Regions from separate parts of the Homo sapiens genome. Here regions 2 and 3 are each linked to region 1. Evidence: promoter capture Hi-C in 16 types of primary human blood cells and fetal thymus (Javierre and others, 2016). All regions are on one chromosome and are shown on one strand. The core of a region is centred on a gene start or on the middle of the fragment in contact, and the rest is flanking DNA. Distances in the headings are between cores, read along the strand shown. Region 1 holds the start of ABRAXAS2 (abraxas 2, BRISC complex subunit). Region 2 overlaps PLEKHA1 (pleckstrin homology domain containing A1). Region 3 overlaps PLEKHA1 (pleckstrin homology domain containing A1).

Region 1 (3,364 bases), core at 220-2,719:
TGGTGAAAATTTCTATGAAGTCAAGCACCACGCCTTGCAGAGTAGATATTAAGGGATATCTCTTGAATTAATTTTTTTCAACAGGTAGCTGCTTGTTCTTACAGTAATCTTGCCATATACATAAACTGTGATATTAGTAGGCATTCAAGAAATAAAGGACCCATTTTTAATAGTCCATGGACACTAGGGGTATCACAAACCCTTACATATGGAACTATATTACATTATTAAATAGCTGGTTGTAGTACCCTAGGCCATAGTCTTCAAAGCTGCTTCTGGAAAAACCCATGATGTATATATTCCTATTCCTATCATTAAGTTCTACCATCAACACTGAAGAGATGAAAGGTACAATAATTTAATTGCATTCAATTTACTAATGGAATCACCTCCCTGTGAAATCAGTTTTTATTAATGGAAGCTAAGATTGCTGACATCAAACCAAATGCAGTTCCTCCTTCTGCAGTGTACCATTTTGCTTTGTAATGACAACCAAAAACCCCACACATAGGTTTAATGAGTTTGAATCATTCACTATTAACATCACTTAAAATAATCCCCCAATTTGGTGGCCAAATTATATACCTCCTTTAAGAGAGAAGTGATCTAGTTTCACAAAGCATTTCCAATCAGAGGCCAATGACGTTAAAAGACAATTTGTAAAATAAAGACACTGAAACAGACAGGATCTGCTCCTCCTGTGGGCTCACAGCCTATGCATTTCCCATCACTCAGTAGTGGGCCTGTCACTTCCCTATTTCACTGTGACTAGTGAAAGAACTAGTCACAAAGAACTAAACACGCAACTTCAAGGAAATACAAAATAGACCCTGCACCGAACGCTCCTGTATACATTCTCCATTTTGCATCAGGGCGAAGAAAACACACAACCGTGTCTAACAAGTATCAGTAGTGACAGCCACGGTTTCACTCGCAGCACCCCCACGACAACCTGCGAGACCGGCGGGCGGGGCTGAGTACCTCGCCTACTGGACTAAACGCCCGGCCTTTAGATTCCTTCCCGACCCCGTGCGCCCCTCTTAAGTCTAGAAGCCTGACTTTCAGGGAGGGGCAGGCGCTCGGTTTCCACCGAGCGACTCCTGACACTGCAGGAGGCCAGGTGGGACAGTTTTGCTGCACGGGAGACGGCTGTGCCGGGACGGCCGAGCGGCTGAGAGCGCGAAGCCAGGGGGCCTGTCCCAGGGGCGAAGGAGCCCCCAGAGGCAAGAGCTCACCGGGGGCGGGAGCCGCCCGGGTCACCAGCTCCTCCGGCCGGCCCTGGTGCCCAGGGGGCGAGCCGCATGAGGTCCCGGCTTGGCCGCGAGCGCCGGCCTGAGACAGAGGCTGAAAGCCCCCAGCGGGCGCGGCAGGGGGCCCGGCACCTACGTGGTCCGCGTTGCTGTTGGCGCTGTGGAAACACACAGCACTGAAGGTGTAGCCCGAAATGGACGCCGCCATGATGGAAATCTCCAGCTACCCCATCATGCCCCGCGGAGGGCACACGGCCTTCCGGACGGCCCGACCCCTTGGCATCATGGGAAGTGGAGTCTGCGGCGGGCAGCGGCCGAGGGCCCTGAGCGCTCACAGTCTTGAAGGCTGAGGAACGCCGGTTTTTGCGATCGGAAGGACCCCGGCACCGTATCCTCCGCAGGGGTGTCGCTCCCGACACGCCTCAGACAGCGGTTGATAGTTCCGCAAACAGTTCTTTCCCTTTGCAAGTGAAACCTTAGTATTAAAAGACAACATTCTAGCCGGGCGCAGTGGCTCACGCCTGTAATCCCAGCACTTTGGGAGGCCGAGGCGGGCGGATCACCTGAGGTCAGGAGTTCGAGACCAGCCTGACCAACATGGAGAAACCCTGTCTATATTGAAAATACAAAAACTAGCCGGGCGTGGTGGCACATGCCTGTAATCTCAGCTACTCGGGAGGCTGAGGGAGGGGAATGGCTTGAACCCGGGAGGCGGAGGTTGCGGTGAGTCGAGATCGTGCCATTGCACTCCAGCCTGGGCAGCAAGAGCGAAGCTTCGTCTCAAAAAAAAAAAAAAAAAAAAAAAAAAAAGGCCAACATTTAGGCTGAGCGTGGTGGCTCGCGCCTGTAATCCCAGCACTTTGGGAGGCCGAGGTGGGCGGATCACGAGGTCAGGAGTTTGAGACCATCCTGGCTTACACGGTGAAACCCCGTCTCTACTAAAAATACAAAAAATTAGCCGGACGTGGTGGCGGGCTCCTGTAGTCCCAGCTACTCAGGAGGCTGAGGCAGGAGAATGGCGTGAACCTGGAAGGCGGAGCTTGCAGTGAGCCGAGATCGCGCCACTGCACTCCAGCCTGGGTGACAGACCAAGACTCCGTCTCAAAAACAAAACAAAACAAAAAGCCAACATTTGAGGCCGGGCGCGGTGGCTCATGCCTGTAATCCCAGCACTTTGGGAGGGGGGGGCGTGTGTGGGGAGTGTTAACCTGAGGTCAGGAGTGTTATGCGCGTTTGTGTGAAGAGACCACCAAACAGGCTTTGTGTGAGCAACAAGGCTGTTTATTTCAACTGGGTGCAGGCGGGCTGAGTCCGAAAAGAGAGTCAGCAAGGGAGATAGGGGTGGGGCCGATTTATAGGATTTGGGTAGGTAGTGGAAAATTACAGTCAAAGGGGGTTGTTCTCTGGTGGGAAGGGGCGGGGGTTACAAGGTGCTCAGTCGGGGAGCTTCTAAGCCAGGAGAAGGAATTTCACAAGGTAATGTCATCAGTTAAGGCAGGAACCGGTCATTTTCACTTCTTTTGTGATTCTTCAGTTACTTCAGGCCATCTGGATGTATACGTGCAGGCCACAGGGGATATGATGGCTTAGCTTGGGCTCAGAGGCCTGACAAGGAGTTCAAGACCAGCCTGGCCAACATGGTGAGACCCTGCCCACTCCCCTCTGCCCATCTCTATTGAAAATACAAAAACTAGCCGGGCATTCTGGTGCATGCCTGTAATCTCAGCTACTCAGGAGGCTGAGGCATGAGAATCGCTTGAACCCGGGAGACAGAGATTGCAGTGAGCCGAGATTGTGCCACTGCGCTCTGGCTCTGTCTCAAAGAAAAAAAAAAGGAAAAGAAAAAAGGCAACATTTACAAGCTCAAGGATGAAAGGATGGAGGAAATTCAGGCAAATAAACAGTTTGGTATAGTAGTGACATAATTTGATAACAGATAACACAATCACTTTGGCTGCAGAGTTGAGACTGTAGCGTCTTGGGGTGGGAGGGAAGTGAAACGGTGGTTCAAGTCACCATCATCTCTCTCTCTCAGAATTTTGTATCCTCTTACTCAGGGAGTCCGAACTGGTGGCAGTTTTGCCTCCCAAAATGGCATGTGGCAATGTTTGGAA
Region 2 (3,268 bases), core at 25-2,524, 2.4 Mb after region 1:
TTTAGCATACTTTTATTTCATATTATCCCAGTAGAAAATCTTAAAATCCACCTTAGATTAGTCAGAAACAGATTTTTGAAGAGTTTTCTAATTAATCTGAGATACTTACTCTTAATTTTCCTGTCACTGATTAAAGCACAAATTTCCATTCCTCTTGTTTTGCACAAGTCCTGCCACCAGTGCTCTTTTTTGGGGAAGGAGTTAACTTTTTATTTTGAAATAATTATAAGGATTCACCAGAAGCTGCCCAAAAAAAGTACAACAGGTCCTATGTACCCTTTCACTAGTTTCCCCTCAAAGGGAAACGGCGTAACATTATCAAAAAACAAGAAATGGACATTGGCACAACCCACAAACTTTATTCGGATTCCACCAGTTTTACATACATTCATCTATGTGTGTCTATACAGTTCTATGCAGTTTTATCACATGTGTAGATCTGTGTAACTACTACCACATTTAAGACCCAGAATTGGTCATCACCCCAAGGCTCCTTTGTGAACTTTAGAGTTCCTACCCCTAAATCCCCTGGCAGCCACTAATCTGTTCTCCAAGACTATAATTTTGACATTTTGAAAATGTAATGTAAATGGAAGCATACAGAAGGTTATCTTTTGAGATTATCTTTTTTCACTCAGCATAATTCTCTAGAGATTCGTCCAGACTGTTCCTTGTATCTAGAGTTCATTCCTTTTTATTGCTATATTTCCATGGTATGGATGGATGACCAGTTGTTTAACTGTTCACCCATTAAAGGACATTTGAGTTGTTTCCCACTTTTAGCTATTAGGAAAAAAGCTGCTATCAACATTCATGCACAAGTTTTTATGTGAATGTAATTTTCCCTTTCTCTACGATAAACACCTAGTCCTGCAAATGCTGGGTTGTACAGTAATCACAAGCTTACTTTTATTATTAAAAAAAAAACAAAACATAAACACTAAACTGTTTTTCAGAGTGGCTAATTTTCATTCCCACCAGCAACACCTGAGAGATTATGTTTCTCCTCAACCTTGGCAGCATTTGTGTCGTCACTTTTATTTCAGCCATTCTGAGAGGTGTGCAGTGATCTTTTATTGTGCTCTTAATTTGTATTTTTTCCCTGCTAGCTAATGATGGTGAACATCTTTTCATGTGCTTACTTACCATCTGTTTATCTTTTATCTTTTGATGAAATATCTGTTCATGAATTTTCTAATTGGATTTCTTGGGCTTTTTACTGTTGGGTTCTGAGTTCTTTCTATGTTCTAGATAAAAGTCCTTTGTTGGACATGTGGTTTGCAAATATTTTCTCCCAGTTTGTAGCTTTTCTTTTCATCCTCTTAAGAAGGTCTTTCATAGAGCAAGTATTTTTTATTTTGATGAGGTCCAATTTACCAATTTTTGCCTTTTATGATAGACATATATTATTTTATAATTTTTAAAACTATACTACAAAATAAATGATGCAATAAAATTATACCCTCCATAAAATCCTAGAAACTACTGAAATATCTATACCAAAATTACAATGCAACAAAATCTTAACTCTAGACAAAATTAAAACAGCCACAGATACAAACTAATACAGTGTCTTAACACAACTACAGGAAAATAGTCTTACCCCTTATGTCAACATAGGTCATAATACCAGTGAAAGAAGCTTAATCTAGGTACATAGTAACCAGAAGGTTAACAGTTTAAAATCATTACTTTTGGAAAAAGTAAACACACAATCCTAGCTTATTTTTTTATCCAACTTTGGTGGAAAATGTATGCTCTATGACAGCAGGGAATTTCTGTTCATTAACATACCCTTTGCCAAGCATAAAGAAAGCACTCAATAGTTAATTAATTAATTAATGTTGTAAGATTTCTAATCCCACTAATCACCCTCCCGTAGCAAAAGACCTGAAAAATGTGGGGAATGATACAATTTGATTTAAAAGATTTATAAAGTGTCAAAGTCTTTTGAGTTCAAAAGGCACACTGGTAATGAAAATACCCAAGCTTGGCAATACCAATTGATTACTTTAAAATTCTTGGTTTCTCAACTACTAGTAACTTAATATCCATTACAAATTCATCCTTTTCAATAGCAAAACAAGAAATTCAAGCTCAGACAAGAGTTTTAATTTCATCAAAAATTGTATGTAAATTTATATTTTTCCTAAAACTCAAATAAAGACTTAATTTAGCATATTAGTACTTCTGAGATATAACTTAGTTAAAATTCCAGTCTTCTGTTTAGCTCACTTAGGCCAGGTTGTAGAAAAAATAGATTTTAAAAATTACTACTTGCAAACTCTTGACTCAGCAATTTTATTTCTAGGAATTTCTCCTTTAAGAATATTCATCATAGCATTGTTTATAAAGTAAAAGAAACAAAAAGGAAAAGGAACTCTATTTGTCCAATAGAGGATTTGTAATTTATGGTAAATCCATGGAAGAACTACTATGCACTCATTAAAAATGATATAAAAGGATTTCTGATGACTTGGAAAATGTTCATGATACAAGTGAAAAAATCTGTTTACAAAATGTAATATACAACTCATATCTCCATTTCTGAGGTGAAAAGTACATGAAGAAAGGCTCAGAGAAATCATGAGAAGTTTTAAATGTTATGTAATTTCCAAATTTTTTATAATAAATACTTTTGAAATAAACAAAAATATTTTATAGTAATTGTATATTATACCAATTAAGCAAAGATGCACTGTTTTAGTTTTAATAATATAAAAATCAATATACAATAATTAGACCCTCACACAATAGAAGAGTTACTTAATTACCTGAGTGGGAGTAATGATGGGTACGCCACCAACAATATCAGTTCTGTAAGACACTTGCTTTTTCCCACATTCACCATGGCGACTTAGGTTATCAGAATTAGGCTGTGAGTCTGACTGCTTTGGTACCTGAAATAGTAAATAAAATGAATCATTTTGCAACCAGCATTATACATGTGAACCTGTTTTCTCGCAGAATTTCTAATTATTCATCCGTTTGCATACGGTTGACAGATACATATAAAAATTATAGTCCATGTATGTACTCCTTAAGTTATCACACTAATTTTTCTGTTAGAATAATATTTTATAATATAGCTATCACGTAATGAGTGCTTACTCGGGCAGGTACTAGTTCACACATTTTTCTCCTTTACTACTCCTGTCTACCCTATGCATAGGGGCTCTACCCCCACCTAAGAGGTAAGGAAATAGGCTCAGGGGCATTAGGGAATATAGATTCAGATCCTGACTATAATACATTCTAGCCAAGTGTG
Region 3 (3,323 bases), core at 192-2,691, 2.4 Mb after region 1:
AAAAACTCATTTATAAATGACTACAAGTCATTTTTTTTTTTTTTTTTTTGAGACAGAGTCTCGCTCTGTCACCCAGGCTGGAGTGCAGTGGCACGATCTCGGCGCACTGCAGGCTCTGCCCCCTGGGGTTCACACCATTCTCCTGCCTCAGCCTCCCGAGCAGCTGGGACTACAGGCGCCCACCACCTCACCCGGCTAATTTTTTGTATTTTTAGTAGAGACGGGGTTTCACCGTGTTAGCCAGGATGGTCTCAATCTCCTGACCACGTGATCCGCCCATCTCGGCCTCCCAAAGTGCTGGGATTACAGGCGTGAGCCACCGCGCCCAGCCAAATAAAGTTTTTTAAAAGCTTTCCATGGCAAAAACCTGATAAGCAAAGTCAAAGCCAGTAGAAAATATTTGCAACTTATATCATAAACAAAGGGCTAATCTCCCTAGCATTTAAAGAGCTTGCAAAAAATGTTAAGGGAAATATATCAAACGTTCAATAGAAAAATGAGTAAAAGACATGAACATTGTACCAAGAGAGATATAAAAATGGCCTTTAAATATATGATGAGATATTCAGTATCACTCATAACAGGACAAATACAAAAAAACCATACCGAGATGTAGCCATTGCCAATGACATCCCAAGAACAGAACAACACGAGAGACTACCACAGGGATTCAAATATCAAAATCTATACAGTAAGAAATGGCTCAGGAAAGATAACTGGTTTCTTTAAAATTAAATTCAAAAGCAGGAGAAGAAAAGGAACTAGAGGAGAAACCTATGAATTAAAAAAGACTTTAGATATCTGGACCAATCACGACATGTGGATTTTATTTAAATCCTGTTTCTTTAAAAATAAAAACAAAAACAAACAAAAAAACACTGACATACTTAAAATCGGAAATTTGAATATTGTCTGATGATATTAAGAAAACAGACACATTATTTTTGGTGTGATAACGGCATTGTGATTGTTACCAAAAAAAGGAGGAGTCCTTTTCATTTAGAGATATTTACTGATATAAAATAAATGTTATTTATCTGGGGCCAGGCATGATGGCTCACAATTGTAATCCCAGCACTTTGGGAGGCTGAGGCAGGAGGATTGTGTGAGCTCAGCAATTCAAGCCTACAAAATGACAAGACATTATCTCTGCCAAAAAAAAAAAAAAAAATTAGCCAGGCATGGTGGTGTGTGCCTGTAGTCCCAGCTACTTGGGAAGCTGAGGTGGGATAATCGCTTCAGCCCAGGAGATTGAGTCTGCAGTAAGCTATGATTGTGCCACTGTACTCCAGCCTGGGCAATAGAGCAAGACCCATTCTAAAAAAAAAAAAGAAAAAAAAAAAACAGAAAGAAAGAAAAGAAAAAAGCAAGAAAGAAAAGAAAAAAATGTTATCTGGGATTTGTTTCAAAATAATTTTTAGAGAAGGGAATAAACGGAGGCACTGGTGGCAGGGTTGGTAGTTGCTGGGGCTAAATGATGGTGTTCATGGGATTGGTTACACTATTCTATTTTTGTGGATGTTCACAAATCTCCATAATAGAAAAGTTTTTTAAATCTATACTATACAGATATACCATTTCTCATCTATTAGACTGGCAAAAATTCAAAAGTTTGACAACACACTATACTGATGAGGCTGTAAGAAAACAGAAACTCTTACATTGCTGGCAAGAAGGCAAAATGGTAAAACCCTACTGGGTGAATCTGGTACTATTTAACAAAATCATATATGCTTTTATCCTATGATCCAGCATTCCTACTTGGTACTGTAATGTGAAACATTTTAGGTATAACAAGACTTCCAGACCATTATAATGTACATTATTGGATAATGTAAATATGTTGATATGATTATATTTAAAATAAAAGAAAACATTTATTTGTTATTAGGAACCAAGACTTTCACAGTGAGAGAAAAGAGGTACAAACAAAAAACAAAAGAACAAACTGTGTACAATACATCTGAATTAGAAATAATATGAACTACATCATTTCTGAAGATATGACAGTAATAGAAAATCACCACTTTGTAATCCCAATGTCTCACTGATTTACACAAGCATCTTCAATGAACACTAAAACCACTAGATGAAATGCTGTTAGGAAACAGAATATTCATAGTCTCAAAATATCACCCCACAGTTTTGTTACTAATTGCAAACAGGAAATGTATCTTTACATTGGAGAGATCTTATAGCCCCCACCTTTACCAAGTAACTTGGTATCTATTGAATCTAGAAGCTAGGTACTAATGGATACCACTTCTCTCTAAACAAACCAAGTATAGTATGATTCCACTGACATGAAATATGCAGAATGGGCAAATCTATAAAGCTAGAAGGTAGATTACTAGTTGCCTAGGTACAGGGGAAATGAGTTGTTGTCTAAGGATAGGAGGGTACAGGGTTTCTTTGGGGATGATACTAATATTCTAAAATTGATTGTGGTGTTGTCCACGTAACTGTGAATGCACTAAATCATACATTTTAAATAAGTGATTTATATAGTGTGAATTATCTCAATAAAGCTTTTTCTAAAAAAAGAAACGATTACAATTGTCTTTCATTCTAGAGTACATAAGAAACCCTAAGGAATATTTCATCTCCCAGACCTCTATTGTTGGAGTATCCCAGAGGGTGGTCTGTGGATCTCTTTCCTATATATACTCAGTGTCTTGGTGAGGTTACTCATTCTCACAGGCCTAAATATTGATGACTTCCAGACTGTTATCTCCAGCCTTGAACACTGTTGACCTCCAGACCCATGTATACAACTGCCTATTCTACGGTTCCACTTATCTAACAAGCTATCTCAAACTTAACAAACTGAGCTCCAGATATTCCCCTCAGAATCCTGATCCAGCCTTCCCTAGCTCAGTAAAGGGCCACTCCCTTCTTCCAGTTGTTCAGGAAAAGTATCTTGAAGTCATACTTAAGTTTTTCTCACCCTGTGGTAGTCCGTTCTTGCATTGCTATAAAGAACTACCTGAGGCTGGGTAATTTACAAAGAAAAGAGGTTTAATTAGCTCACAGTTCCACAGTCTGTACAGGAGGCATGACTGGGGACGCCTCAAGAAACTTACAATCATGGTGGAAGGCAAAGAGGGAGGAGTTACCTCTTACATCGCAGGAGCAGGAGGAAGAAAGAGAGAAGAGAGAGGTACACACTTTTAAACAACCAGATCTCAGGAGAACTCACTCACTATCATGAGAACAGAAAGTAGGGATGTCTGTCCCATGAACCAACCGCCTCCCAACAGGCGCCTCCTCCAACACTGGGGATTACAATTCGACATGAGATTTGGGTGGGGACACAAATCCAA

The links. The method cuts DNA at HindIII sites, captures the fragments that hold promoters and counts their contacts. A CHiCAGO score of 5 or more calls a contact.
Region 2: a contact is called between a fragment that was not itself captured here and the fragment with the promoter of ABRAXAS2 in region 1, in 1 of 17 cell types (total CD4 T cells). The highest score is 5.1, in total CD4 T cells.
Region 3: a contact is called between a fragment that was not itself captured here and the fragment with the promoter of ABRAXAS2 in region 1, in 1 of 17 cell types (non-activated CD4 T cells). The highest score is 6.3, in non-activated CD4 T cells.

Annotation. Positions count from the first base shown.
Region 1 is chr10:124,799,924-124,803,287 of GRCh38, reverse strand. It overlaps ABRAXAS2 (abraxas 2, BRISC complex subunit), which reads right to left and starts at 1,469. Exons shown (of 9, transcript NM_032182.4): 1 at 1,387-1,469. The coding sequence starts at 1,458. RefSeq lists a silencer at 1,194-1,273 and enhancers at 762-1,315, 1,374-1,643, 1,316-1,870. The HindIII fragment of the contact is 5,454 bases long and covers 1-2,025 here.
Region 2 is chr10:122,412,552-122,415,819 of GRCh38, reverse strand. It overlaps PLEKHA1 (pleckstrin homology domain containing A1), which reads right to left. Exons shown (of 12, transcript NM_001001974.4): 6 at 2,775-2,900. Among named protein-coding and RNA genes, the nearest start is that of MIR3941, 2.8 kb to the left of the region's middle. The HindIII fragment of the contact is 740 bases long and covers 905-1,644 here.
Region 3 is chr10:122,381,335-122,384,657 of GRCh38, reverse strand. The region is part of intron 1 of PLEKHA1 (pleckstrin homology domain containing A1); the gene reads right to left. Among named protein-coding and RNA genes, the nearest start is that of PLEKHA1, 8.3 kb to the right of the region's middle. The HindIII fragment of the contact is 2,178 bases long and covers 353-2,530 here.